Regions from separate parts of the Homo sapiens genome. Here all the other regions are linked to region 3. Evidence: promoter capture Hi-C in human tissues and cell types (Jung and others, 2019). All regions are on one chromosome and are shown on one strand. The core of a region is centred on a gene start or on the middle of the fragment in contact, and the rest is flanking DNA. Distances in the headings are between cores, read along the strand shown. Region 1 has its middle 140 kb from the start of ZNF618. Region 2 has its middle 46 kb from the start of SLC46A2. Region 3 holds the start of POLE3 (DNA polymerase epsilon 3, accessory subunit).

The links. Contacts are between HindIII fragments. The study calls those that stand out against the background at their distance.
Region 1: a contact is called between a fragment that was not itself captured here and the fragment with the promoter of POLE3 in region 3, in 1 of the 25 tissues and cell types used here (liver).
Region 2: a contact is called between a fragment that was not itself captured here and the fragment with the promoter of POLE3 in region 3, in 1 of the 25 tissues and cell types used here (thymus).

The regions. Positions count from the first base shown.
Region 1 is chr9:113,733,594-113,738,001 of GRCh38, forward strand. No RefSeq gene overlaps it. Among named protein-coding and RNA genes, the nearest start is that of ZNF618, 140 kb to the right of the region's middle. The HindIII fragment of the contact is 4,468 bases long and covers 1-3,688 here.
Region 2 is chr9:112,934,159-112,939,148 of GRCh38, forward strand. No RefSeq gene overlaps it. Among named protein-coding and RNA genes, the nearest start is that of SLC46A2, 46 kb to the left of the region's middle. The HindIII fragment of the contact is 6,082 bases long and covers 457-4,990 here.
Region 3 is chr9:113,408,720-113,413,196 of GRCh38, forward strand. It overlaps POLE3 (DNA polymerase epsilon 3, accessory subunit), which reads right to left and starts at 1,956. Exons shown (of 5, transcript NM_017443.5): 1 at 1,898-1,956; 2 at 1,509-1,689; 3 at 1,336-1,421; 4 at 891-1,009; 5 at 1-264. The coding sequence starts at 1,574. The coding sequence ends at 92. It overlaps C9orf43 (chromosome 9 open reading frame 43), which reads left to right and starts at 2,028. Exons shown (of 14, transcript NM_001278629.2): 1 at 2,028-2,282. RefSeq lists enhancers at 754-1,953, 856-1,755, 1,328-1,607, 1,848-2,037, 2,656-3,555. The HindIII fragment of the contact is 6,520 bases long and covers 1-4,477 here.

The DNA.
Region 1 (4,408 bases), core at 205-2,704, 320 kb after region 3:
TCAGTTCTCCAAAAATGGAACTAATATTAATTGGCTAAGGACGCAGCTCTGAAGGGTACCAAAGTTCAGTTATTTTAAATGTTGAGATCTAGAGGTGGGGATAGACGTAGTTCCAGAGAAACCTCTTTCTAACAAACATAAAATCAAACATTCTCTTGAGTGTGAGTTCTCTTAAGTTAAGGGGTGAGATCCTGGAGAAGAGTGTGGGATGTGCCTGCAGGGGCAGATGGGGGACACCAGCCTGGGAATCAGGAGACCAGCTAGGTTCTCATAAGCTATCCCTAATCTGGCTCTTCCAACCCTGTGAATACTGAGGCCAGCATTGTCTTTATAGAGCACAGTTTAACTCTGTGTTTTAGATCAGGGGTCCACAACCCCCGGGACCTGGACTGGAACTGGTCTGTGGCCTATTTGGAATTGGGCCACACAGCAGGCAGCGAGCAGTGGGCAGTGGGCGAGCGAGCATTATTGTCTGAGCTCTGCCTCCTGTCAGATCAGCAGTGTTATTAGCTTCTCACAGGAGCTTGGACCCTATTGTGAACTGTGTGTGCGAGGGAGCTAGGTTGTAGACTCCTTATGAGAATCTAATGCCTGATGATCTGAGGTGGAACAATTTCATCCCCAAATCATCTCCCCAACCCCCTGTCCATGGAAAAATTATCTTCCACAAAACTGGTTCCTGGTCCCAAAAAGGTTGGGGACCGCTGTTTTACACAGTCCATTCACATGTCCCAAACACTTCCATGACTTTCCATGAGGAAGGAAATGGGAGGCCATTTCAGACAGGAAGACGTACATGGGTAAAGGTATGGATTTCCTCAACGTTTCTTGCCATTTGTCCATCTTTGACGTCACCCTCTCCCTTGTTGGAGTGGTTAAGGCAGGATAAAGTCCAAATTCTGTCACTTCCATAAAACACCCTGTCTGGTCTGGACCCTGCCAGTCTCTTTCACCACTCTCCTTCCACCCTAGACTTGGCCCCAGACATACCCAGCTGCTTGCAGGTCTATGAATTCATCCAGCTTCTATACCTGTATCTATGCTGTGCTGTATACCTGGAGGTACATCCCTGCCCTTCCCTCTTCCAGGAAGCCTTCACTCCTATAACAGTGATAAGCAGCTAGTATTGGCTAGGATAATTCTGGCAGCATATGACAGAGACCAAATAACAGTAGTTCACATAAAATACTAGTTAATTTGTTTCTCACCTAGTTATTAGGAAGGCTCTGCCTTACAAAGCTGCCTATAATGCAGATTCCTTCTGTGTTGGTCTGGGATGTATTCTTTATCCACATGATCCAAGGTGGCTTTCATTTGTCACTGTTATGAGGAAAGGCTTCTGGGAAGAAGGGCAGAAATGAGTCCTCCAACACGGAAAGGACATGCAAGCAGGAAGGGCAGGTGTCCTCTCTTTCAAAGGCATGGCCTGGAAGTTATACGCATCACTGGCACGCACTCCCCATTAGCCAGAACTGACTCACATGGGCACAAAACCCAGCTGCAAGGAAGGTGGGGGAGTATAGCTTTTATTCTGGGAAGCCTCTGTTATTATGAGAGAAAAGGGGAAGGCTGACATTGGAGAATGGCTGTATGTGGATGAGAGCTGTGAGAACAGAAGGACCACCCAGAAGGAATGAAGATGAAGACTTAACCACTCCAACAAGGGAGAGGGTGATGTCACCCTTCCTTCTTAAGGAAGACTTAACCACCCCAATAAGGGAGAGGGTGACGTCAAAGATGGACAAATGGCAAGAAATGTTGAGGAAATCCATACCTTTACCCATGTACATCTTCCTGTCTGAAATGCCCTCCCATTTCCTTCCTCATTTCTCCAGGCCCAATTTATGCTTGATTTCCTCATGGAGGCCTCTACTGACAACTTCAGTCTTTCCCGGGCCTAGATAAAAAGTCTCTGTCTGGGTTACTAACTGGGCCAACATGATTATAATCATCTTTTATTGATGCCTCTTATGAAACAGGTAATTTATATACATATACATATCTCATTTTCTTCTCACCATGCCTTTATGAGACTTTTATTATTATTTTTTTATTTTTTATTTTTTAAAGAGACAGGGTTTCACTCTGTCACCCAGGCTGGTCTCCACCTCCTGGCCTCAAGCGCGATTCTTACCTGAGCTCTGACATTACAGGTGTGAGTCACTGCACCTGGCCCCTTGTTAGACTTTAAGAGGCTCGGCGAAAAATCACTTCTCTCTCCCCTTCTGAAATGAGGATCAATTGGGAAATAAAATCCAGGAGACTGGCGAATGGACATCAATGTTAGCTTTTTATTGATAAACTGATTGGAGAGCATGACTTCCTATTTGTGGTCAAAGGGCTGGCTCATAACCCTCTTTGCACCCATACAGGATCCCATACAGGGTCCCCCATAGAGAACTTGGAAAGGCCTGCTGGGGGAAGTTTGGGCTTCAGAGTCACTCATCTACTGAGGATTCCTGCCTAGCCCTGGTATGGAGAAAAGGGATGAAAAGAGGAAACATCCCTAGTCTTACAGTCTTTTAATAACTTAGCTCTACCCACCAAGAACTGTGGTCCCAAGGCTGTGGCCCCACATCAGGTAACTCATTCACTTCCCCTCTGAGGGGTAGAGGGGAAGGGGCGGGGCAAGAGGCCAGGAGTGTTACTCTTTTTGCGTTCTGTCCATGGGGAAACGGGAGGCAAGAGGAACGAAATTTCTGCCATAACAATCCCTAATGAGAGGAATTGCTTTGCCCATGTTATAGGCGAGGAAATCAGCACTGCGAGAAGGGCTGTGACTTGCTAGGGTCACTGAGATGTCATCCAGGTATTAGATGGCAGAGAATTTTGGAACCAAATCTATCTAGCCTTGGTCATTAGTCACTATCTGTAGTAGCTTATAAGCTCTTTGAAGGAAGCATTACAATCAAACATCTCTACTTTCCCAGCAGCAGCTAGCAAAATGTCTGTTCATTAAAAGACTCACAGCAGAGTCTGGTATAAAGGGCCCGGGTTCTGGTCCACATATGTTGCCTCTTTGTCCTCGTCTCATGTTCAGTCAATCTCTTTACCAGGACGTTTCACGTCAGAGCAGGAAGCAGTGATGCTACCTGGGGACCTTGTCAACGCTGCTGCCTCTGAAGAGTCCCTTGCTGGGTTTATAGTTTGAGGCACTTTGTTGCATTTTTTTGAAATCCACTTTCTCCGTTGAGCCTCCTACTACTCCTGAGGAGGGAAGAAAAGGGTGGTGAAGAGATTAAGGGCAATGTGGGATTAAGGACCATGGGTGGTCCAGGCTGGTAGTTTAGTTCGTAACCCTTCAAATAAATAGCCTTAAATATTTGCCCAGGATGTATTTCTTTCTTTTTTTTTAATTTTATTGTATTTTTTTTTGCGGGGGGGATGGAGTCTCGCTCTGTCACCAGGCTGGAGTGCAGTGGCCCAATCTCGGCTCACCACAACCTCCACCTCCTGGGTTCAAGCAATTCTCCTGCCTCAGCCTCCCGAGTAGCCGGGACTACAGGTGCCCGCCACCACGCCCCGCTAATCTTTGTATTTTTAGTAGATACAGAGTTTCACCATGTTGGCCAGGATAGCCTCGATCTCTTGAGCTTGTGATCCACCCGCCTTGGCCTCCCAAAGTGCTGGGATTACAGGCGTGAGCCACCATGCCAACATGTATTTCAAGAGGATAGAGAGAGACTGGCTGTTAATAGAAATTGCACAGAAAAAGGGATTCTCTTACTAATGAATCTTGGGCAGAAGTGGTGGTGTTTACGTCAAGAAAAAGGCCTGCCCAGCATTTCCCACTTTTCTGTGGTCTTTATACTCTATATAGTTTTCTTTTGCAACTTGCTAAACTGTACAGCTTTTTGGCAGATATATTAAATGATTTTATATTTAGATAATGAAAGAAGTCACTTGTTCCCAGTAAACAGCCCCGCTCCATGGAACACATCTTTACAGAACTTCTGGTGCCTCCTGAAGAACAGAGGGCTATGCTTGGGAGAAACGCTGTATTTTTATCTTCCACTGGAGGGCGCTGTCTACTTTGGTGGAAGTGGAACCATCGATTCCACCAATTTATTCTAGCAGTGTTTCAGCTCACCTGGTGAATTTGTGCCTTGGGCAGTTGTCCAGCAGTCTACTCCTTAATCTGGCTTTTTCCAAGGTCCCACAGGGCAGTAGTCAGGGCTCGGATGAGACCCCAATCAGTGTCATTTCTACTGAGCTGGGCCACTGAACTCTAAGAGTTCTTGTCTTTGAAAAGAAGGCTTTTCAGAGCATACCGCAGCCTCATCCCATATGTGTGTATCTGTTACCCATTCCTATACTGTCTGTGACTCAATTTCCATGACTTTGCATCCTTTGCCTTTGCAAAAATATAAACTGGGCATCTTTCTTTTCTTTTCTCTTTCTTTCTCTC
Region 2 (4,990 bases), core at 2,248-4,747, 470 kb before region 3:
GGAAGAGGGATGTCTCTGACCACAAAAGAAAGACCTGAGTTGGCAATGGATTGAAGGGATTGTAAGAGTTATGTGCTGGTGCGTGTTCCTGGGGGACCCGGAGCTACTTCCTCCCTGTACATAACCCTACACCCTCTCTCTGAGGTGTAGGGTTATATTAGCAACCCCAGGTTCATATTCAGAGGGACCAGAGAACAAAGGTAACTGGCATATAGCTATGATGCTAGGCTAGGAAAGAGCCTCACGCACTTAGGGCAATGGTGGCAGAGTGGAAATGGTAGCAGGGCTCATGAAGGCCAAGAGAAGCCCTGATATAGTCCACTCCCCATCCCCTGCTATATCCCAGGGCTCCAGAGTGTCCCAGGAGAACATGAGAAAACTCATCATTGCTTTGGAATGGTGACTCTTCCCATAAAGAGAATTGGTAGGCAGGAATGGCTCACTGGTGGAAGATGAATAGAGACTTGGAGACAGGAGCAGGAGATAGGCTGTGAATGCTTCAGCAATGATGGGAGTGGGTGCAGACTAACAAACTCCAGCAAAGCTGCACTCCTCCGAAGCCAGCCTGAGTGGTTGATGATAGTGGCCCAGGTGCTGCTTCTCCCAAACCAGAATGCCTAACCTCCCCTAGGAGCTTAAATTATTCTCAGGGAGTAAAGAAGAGCAGGGAAAAGGGAAGAAGTAAAATATCCTGAAGCTACTTAAGAGACAAAGAGAAACAGTCCCAGGAAGGAAGTAACAAGACTTGACTTGAATCAGATTTTCTGCTGAAGGCAAAAACTGGAGTTTTAGAGATAAGAGCAGAAAGGTAGTAATGCTCTTTCTTTCTTTTTTGTTTGAGACGGAGTCTCGCTCTGTCGCCCAGTCTGGAGTGCAGTGGTGCGATCTTGGCTCACTGCAACCTCTGCCTTCTGGTTTCAAGTGATTCTCCTGCCTCAGCCTCCCGAGTAGCTGGGACTACAGGCGAGTGCCACCACACTTGGCTGATTTTTTTTTTTTTTTTTTGTAATTTTAGTAGAGACGGGGTTTCACCGTGTTAGCCAGGATGGTGTCTCAATCTCCTGACCTCGTGATCCGCCCGCCTCGGCCTCCCAAAGTGCTGGGATTACAGGTGTGAGCCACTGTGCCCAGCCAGTAATGCCCTTTCAAATCTAATGTGATATCACTTAAACTCAGTGCACCTGTATTGAGATCTCATGAAGAACTTGTTTCACAGCAATGCTATACCTTAAAACGCCCATCAAGCTCATCTGAGGATAGACTTATACTACCTCCTTGCAAGGTTTCTTGACCTTATGAGCTGGATGATTCTGTTTGGGGCAGGGCTGTCCTGTGCAATGTAGGGTGTTCAGCAGCATCCCTTGCTTTTACCTGCCAGATACCAGTAGCACCCACCTCCTAGTTAGGACAGCCAAAAATGTCTTCACACATTGCCAAATGTCCCCTTGCAGTACAAGACCTACCTCCCCACCCCAGTTGAGAGTCGTTGTGCTAAGGCTATCTCCTCTCCTGTGTGTAGGATCCTGGGGCATAAATTAAAACACGTGGAGGTAACCTCCCGGGCATAGCTAGCAACTCCAGCTGCGCTCAATTCCCTTCCTATCCAGAGGATTCCAGGGAAGCAGGAGCCTTGGCTGGGCAGGACCCAGATTTGCCCACCAAATGCAGAGGAGAATGGCTGGAGGGAACCAGCAAGTTCAGATGACCAGCAGCTCTAAAAGACAAAAGGACTAAGGACATCTCCAAAGAGTTAGTATAATAAGATGAAGTATGACTGCGTACTGTTAAATAGGCACTTGATAAGCTTCACTATCTTGGGATATGGGGTTTACATGCCTCGAGAATGAGGTTAGTCTTTGGTAGGAGACTTAAAGATACTTCATAGTGGGTGGGTCTGTTATGAATGTCATTGAACCTTAGTCACTCAACATGTATAGGTTGTTTTCAGGAAAAACCATCTTGGAGTGACAACTGTACCTGGAACTTAAACTGTTATGGTGGAATTGGTAATGGTGACAAAAGCCTATGTTTCTTCCAAATCCTAAGTGTCTTCAAACTCTACCACAACTTTGATCTTTTGAGAGCTTTTCAAGAAAAATGGATGAAACACAGGCTTGAGCCTAGACCCCAATTAAAATGTCAGGTTATTTATTTATTTATTTATTTTACATAACCAAACAACCAAATCCACTTTTGCTAACCCTGTATCCTAGCCCTATGGTGCTCTGGTTTCTTCTCTCATCAAACCAGGTTTTCCTGACATACCCCTGACTTCAAAGGCTTCATATCTGTTTTTGAGGAAATTAATACCTGTGAGGACTAGGACTCTGAAGACTGAGGCAAAATCTTCATGTTGAAGGGATGGGAAAAGAACAGTCCTGTCAGAACAAGGTAGGATCCCAGGTTCTTGCCATTAGAGGCTGGGGAAGGGAAACATCTAGGAGAGTAGAACAGATAATTCTTTTCTCCATTTGTTGTATAAACTTGGTCCCACTCCCAGCATTGAGCAAGGCAGAGTTAAACCATCAGAAAATAATTACCTATGCAGGAAGTCAGTCCTGTCAGAACAGCATGACAGCTGCTGGTGGTCAAGTCGAGTTCTGGATTTTAGCCACCCAGCCTGAGGGTCTGTGTCCGAGAACACAGCAAGATTTGGGAGATGGAGCACAAGGAATAGGAGGGCAATGTCCCTTAATTGCAGGGACAACTCATCTTACCAGAATTAGATTAAGTCATTGAAAACTAGGTTGTCTTCCTGAATATTCTTGGAAGTCTATCTTGATAGGTGTCAAATCAGACATACTAGCAGCTCCTTTGAATGATCGGGGATTGGGGTTCTCTAAGCTTCAAATCCCCTCAGCTGTGCCAGAGCTACCCTACTCAAGGCTGCGCCTCATTGCGATGAGACTTGCACAAGGGAGGCTGGGGGTGGGGGAAATGGATTCAAACACGAAGCTTGTGCCACCTACCAGGCAGTAAGTCAGTCGTTTTTTCTCTGACGAGGGGTTTCCTGTCTCGGCATCTATAAAACTGTGGCAGGATAACTTGTTAGCTTGAAAATAGGGTAAAATCTTGACTCTTGATGGTTCTTAAGTTTTGGTGATGAGAATGGGACACAAACCTGGATTTCTGCAAGAGAAAGGACAAAGATCCTTTGCAGGCTGGGTCAGGGGAGATGAGAAGCAAGTCCCTTGAGACCCTGTGTCTGGTAGTGAACGCTGCTGCCCAAGTGTGAGGGTAAGTCTTCACTGTCCTGTTAATGAGACTAAGGGGTTGAGACTAGGATTGAAACAAGCAGCCCCAATAGTGCTTTTAGTCATTTGCTTTCTTCCTAGTGGGGAGAAGGAAGGTCAAGGAGTCACTAAAGCTGACACAGGGTGTTGGGTGAACGAAACTGGTTGAGCCATGAGCAGCTGTTTAGAGACTGACAGTAATGGGCCTGGCTTACTGGTGTAAGTTACAATGCCTTATTGGACTCCTTGGACATTGGAAACAGAACAGGTCTGACTTTTGTCAACTGGGGCCTCTGGCAAAGGGAGTCAGCCTCCCACCTGGAGGTGCCATTGGTGTCCTGGAGTTGTGGCCCCTCTGACAGGGCTACCCAGGTAGACCTCTTTTGGAAAGTAGCTCTTGGCTTCTTGAGTTCCCATTGAAATGAAACACCTCATCTCTAGAGGCTTTGTGACTTAGTCCTGAAATTATCATTTTGGGATGGGTCAGTTTGCACTCAAAGACTAACAAGGTAGAAAGCACCCCAAAAGCCTTGCTTAGAAATAGCCGTGACATAGCCAAGAACGAAACAGTCTTTGCCCAGTGGTATCTTGGCTTTATGCGGAAAAGTAGCTGTAATTCCTATGGAGAAACTGCATTCTACCTACTCTGCTACTGGGGAGGAAAAGCCACTGGCCCAAGATGCCCTCCTTTGTACTTGCCTGAGCCTGCCTCAGTGAGGGTCTGGCTGAGTTGAAACCTCAGTGTCCACTGGGCTGATGCAAGTCCTCAGCCTCAGAGCCAGCCCTGCAGAGCTAAGAGTGAATGTGGTTGCCCTACTCAGAGCAGAATTCAAACTGCTGGGCTGTTAATGGCCTGTTTGCCAGTTCATGTTCTAAGTGGAAGAAACAGATCAAATAGTCCTCTCAAACTGGAAACTATCTGGCTCACTCCCTCAGATACCCATGGCAAAGGCTGGTTCTGAAACTAACTAGAATCAAGCTGCTGATTGAACTGAACTGTGTTTTGATGCAGAGGCTACTGTTGCACACCAAACTTCTGACTCCTGCCACAAGCTCATGCAATATCACAAAAGGTAGTTCCCTTTTCCCTGCCTGGAAGATTGACTTTATCAGCTCTGACCCCCTTCTAAGACTGTTTCTCCATAGATTCTTCCTCAGGTTATTTATGAGCTTATTTTCCCTAAGCCAAAAAGGAGGCCTTGGGGACTCAAACCTGTTAAATCTTAGTGTCCTATCCCTTTCACCTGATCTACAGAAGGTCTGGGTGTGAGCAGGGAATGGTTGGATAATAGCTGGAGTTGTAGCTCCTGGAATGGGACATCAATTTTGTGGAGATGATGGAAGAGCAACAAACAAGCCAGCATCTGCTGAGGTGACCTGTCTTACACCCTAGGAGGTGAGAAAGAAAGAGGGGCATTAGTGATACCCCTCTCAGAACTGTGCTAGAGTCTTGGTACAGAAAGGAAAACTCATGGCATGTCTCTCAAACTATAGCAATCTGACTGCTGGGTCTGCCATCCTCAGCCAGACAGCTGACTGTTTAAACGTCTGTCTTGCCCCATCCTCTAGATGATGCATTTGTTGGTCGTGATGGCTTCATCCACAAAGTGGCACTTACCTTTGATAAACACTGGGAACATTGAAGTTCATGTTGAACAATGAACGTTGGGTCATTGAACAATGACCCCTGCTCTCAGAACTGCCCTGAAGTTTTGATACAGAAGGAAACTCCATGACATGTCCCTCAAACCACAGCA
Region 3 (4,477 bases), core at 706-3,205:
ACTCTGCCCAGCATGGAAAAGCTTCACAGAAACACGTAGCACGTCTCATTTCAAGTGGTACCTTCCAAGGTGCCACAGTCTCCCGCCCTTTTCAGTTGTCTACTTCTTCCTCTTCATTCTGTTCTTCTTCTTCCAGCCTTTCTTCGTCTTCATCATTGTCCTCATCCCTGCTCTTGTCTTGCTCTTCCGAGTCTGTTTTTTTGTCTTTGTCCTTCTTCTTTTGCTCTGAGGCCTCCTTCTTGCCTTTCTGCTCCCGCCTATATGCTGTAAGGACGGAACAAGGGGTTAGGAGACAGAGCTGAAAGTGAGCCAGACGGACTGCAGGAGCTAATTACATTGTACAATTGGAAAAACGGAGGCAGATGGGCGCGGTGGCTCACGCCTGTAATCCCAGCACTTTGGGAGGCTGAGACGGGCGGATCACCTGAGGTCAGGAGTTCAAGACCAGCCTGGCCAATATGGTGAAACCCCGTCTCTACAAAAATAAAAAATGAGCCGCACGTGGTGGCGTGCGCCTGTAGTCCCAGCTACTCGGGAGGCTGAGGCAGGAGAATTGCTTGAACCCAGGAGGAGGAGACTGCGGTGAGCTGAGATCCCATCACTGCACTCCAGCTTGGGTGACAGAGCAAGACTCCGTCTCAAAAAAAAAAAAAAAAAAACAAAAACAAGAAAAGCAAGACAAAAACAAAAACGGAGGCAGAGAAGGAAAAATAACTTGCTCAGCATTACAAAACAGATCTGAGGTGGTGCCCACCGAACTGGGTCGAGTCACATCAAGTGCTGGCTTACTGGACTTAAAGGGACCCGCGCTGAGAAGGCTCAGGGCCTGGTGAACAGGTCACACAGGATGACCATCTTCTATGTGGTTTAGAAGACAAGAGGCTCGTTACCTTCCAGAGCTTCTTTCAATGGGGTAACGAACCGCTGGAACTCCATCTCTTCCATGGCTGAGAGCACATCACTGGCATTCAGCGTCTTCCGCTTTCCTTTCATTGCAAAGTTGTTAGCACTGAGAGAAGAGAAAGGCTGTCAGACTCCCTCTTGTTTGTAAGGCGTGAGTGGGAAAAGGAGCACCCAGAGGTGGAACGGGAAAGCCTGCCTCTTACATGTATGGATTTTGGTGTGACAGGGATAAGTCCTTCCCTTCTCTGCACAAAAAAGCTAAAGCAAAGTGATTTTGTTGTGTTATTTTGCTTCAGAACTTGTAAAAACTGGCAGAGGACTGTGAACATGTCCCCACCGAGGGAGAACACAATCGTTGGGGTTTGTAGGCTCCCAGCCAGCAACTCCCAGCCAGGTATCCCCGCGCCTCCCTTATGCCTCTGTCCCGCTCACCAGGATGTGGCGTACAGCACGAAGACGCTGGCGGCGCGGGAGATGGCGCTCCGGGCCTCCTTGGAGATGTTGACACCGTCCGGGAGCTGCGAGGAGACCGGGGGTGAGCAAAGCTGCCGTTCCAGCACCTGCTTCCCTCCTGCCCGTTCGTCCGCCCCCCCCGAGCTGCTCACCGCCTCCTTGATGATCCTGGTGATCACGGCATTGGGCAGGTTTAGGTCCTCGGGCCTCTCCGCCATTGCCGCCGCTGGGGCTTAAACTCCCCTTCGCCTCCGCTTCAGGGAGCTACTGCGTCCGGACTTCCCGCGTCGCTACGGTCTGACCCTGCGAGGTTTCCGTTCCGCCCCACGTGGCCTACAGTGTCCCACAGTGCTCTGAGCGCCATAGCCTCCCTCCTCCCCCCACAGCCCCGCCTCCGCCTCAAATACCGGCGCATCCGGATTTTGAAGCCGCAGTGGTTTTGGCCCGCCAAGGCTTCCATCCAACCCTACCGCACCCCGCACGCCCCTCCCCAGGTCCATTTCTCTGCTTCTCGCCATCGCCGCGTCGGGAACCTTCTCACCAACTTATTTGGCTCAATGGAGCTTCCGTCCGTTTCCCATGGTGCCCTGCGCCGCTGCTGGGTGACGGCGCGGCCGGGCGCAGCGCGTGGGAGACGAAGGCGTGGCTGACTCGGCGGGGCGGATCCCTTTAGGACCCGAGGCAGGCTCTGGGCCCGCCGGGTCCGTTAATCTCACCGCGCCGCAAGGGGCCACGTTTTACCACTTGATTTAGCAACCCTAAGCGGTTTGGAATCTGCTTTGCTCTCACAGGACCTCAGCCCGTCGTGATCAGATTCTCCCACTTTCTTTTTTCTTTCCTGGAATGGAGTGGGCAGTCTTTTTCCATCTCTACCGAAGTTGATGTTCATTTTTAATCTTTTCGCCCCTCACGCTTTTGTAATAATGGTACTAAGACTGAGTGTTATTTAGATTTTATTGTTGTTGTTTGTGTTTAACGCGAACTATTTAGGCAGCCCAGGGATAATGCTGGCCATATAGAGATGCGCCTGATTAGGTCTCAGGAGTCAATTCGGACTGGGCAGGTAACGAAAGGGCGAGAAGCAGCCTTTTCACTGTATGAAGAATGCAACGTCACATTCGCTTTCAAAAACAAACCGTGTTAAAATTGTATTTATTTTTCAGTTAAATTGTTCATCATACATTTTTTCCAGTTAAAACCATTCTCAAGGTTTTGCAATGGCGTTTCTTTTTTTTTTTTTTTGAGACAGTCTCACTCTGTCGCCCAGGTTGGAGTGCAGTGGCGCCGATTTCGGCTCACTGCAAGCTCCGCCTCCCGGGTTCACGCCATTCTCCTACCTCAGCCTCCTTAGTAGCTGGGACTACAGACGCCCGCCACCACGCCCGGCTAATTTTTTTGTATTTTTAGTAGAGACAGGGTTTCACCGTGTTAGCCAAGATGGTCTCGATCTCCTGACCTCGTGATCCGCCCGCCTCGGTCTCCCAAAGTGCAGGGATTACAGGCGCCAGTCACCGCGCCCGGCGCAATGGTGTTTTAAGTTGTTTTTAAGTTATTTTTATATTAAGTTCGTAGAAATTCTCACTCCCACTGATTTTATTTATTTTTTAATTTTTAAAATTTCTTGACAGGGTCTCACTCCGTCCCCCAGGCTGGAGTGCAGCGGCACGGTCTCGGCTCACTGTAGCCTCGACCTCCCTGGCTCAGGTGGTCCTCCCACCTCAGCCCCAAATAGCTGGGGCTACAGGTGCGTTCCATCACACCCAGCTAATTTTTTGTATTTTTCGTAGAGACAGGGTTTCACCATGTTGCCCAGGCTGGTCTCGAACTCCAGGGCTCAAGTGATTCTCCCTCGGCCTTGCAAAGTGCTGAGATTACAGGCATGAGCCACGGCGCCCAGCCTCCCACTGAGAATTAATGCTGCTTTTTTTTCCCGTCAAGCATGCAGTCCCAAGTCGCCCTGTAGTTTTCCTGCTTTCGATAGAAGCCTGATTATAGAGAAATATTTTAAAACAAAAGAGCAAATGCTATGATAAATGGCAACTGAAAGTGTTTCAATTAGAGACCATAAGGTCTGGTGGGGGAACTCCGCTTGGATAGAACAGACCTGGCTGAAACCATCAGGGCTGCTCAGCGCTAGTCAGTTGCTCTTCAACTGGAATTGGGCTCAGTGTTGTCAAGTATTTTGGTCCCTAAAAGGACATTGTGGGCTATTTCAATTTTAAAATTGATTCAAATTTAAAATTGATTCAAAGTGCTAGCCAAACAAAACAAGTAATAGGCCAGGTGCAATCCCAGGCTGATAGTTTATCTTTGATCTAAATTATGAAACTGTTTAGAACAGGGAGTTTGTTTATTACTGTTCATGTCCAAAGCAGGTCCCCTCACATATTTAGTAATCAATAAATGTGTTGAATAAAAGAAAGAAATGGACACTGTCCTTAAAAAGTTCTTAGGAATAAGGTGGTAGTTAGTGATTGCCTAAAACACCTCTAGAAAGGAAAAGATGATAATATTTATTGAACACCTCCCATGAATAAAAGTACATTATCTCATTTAATGCTTCTGCAGTCCTACTTAGGGATTCCCTGCCTTCTGCTTATGTTATTTATTATTTTTTGTGGAGAGGGGGTAACTCATCTTGGCCTACCAAAGTGCTGTGGTTACAGACCTGAGACACCAAGTCAGGACCCCTCCCCCTACTTGAGAGAGAGGTGTGAAGACCCTTGTCAAAGGCCATATGGCCAATGAATGAAAAGCTAATGGCCTCTGATGCAACTAGCAGTGTCTAGTGATTTGCTATTTGAGCAAACACATTCATTGCTGGTGGGTATTTTATCTGCCTGCATGGGAACTGAAGCACATTGAAAAATGAAACATGTCTTCCAGAAGTTTGGGCCTTCTAAGACACTTCTGTGACTACTTTGGTCATAATTTGATAATGCTTTTTGGAGATGGTGGCATCTTCTCCCTGATGACTAACGAAGGGGAAAAGGAAAGGATGCAAATATTTATTTGGAACAATATGCCAGGCTTTTAATATCCATTAACTAATTTTTATAATGACCCTGTGAAATAAGCTTATCCTCATTTTACAGTGGAGGCAACAGGCTCAGACTGGTTA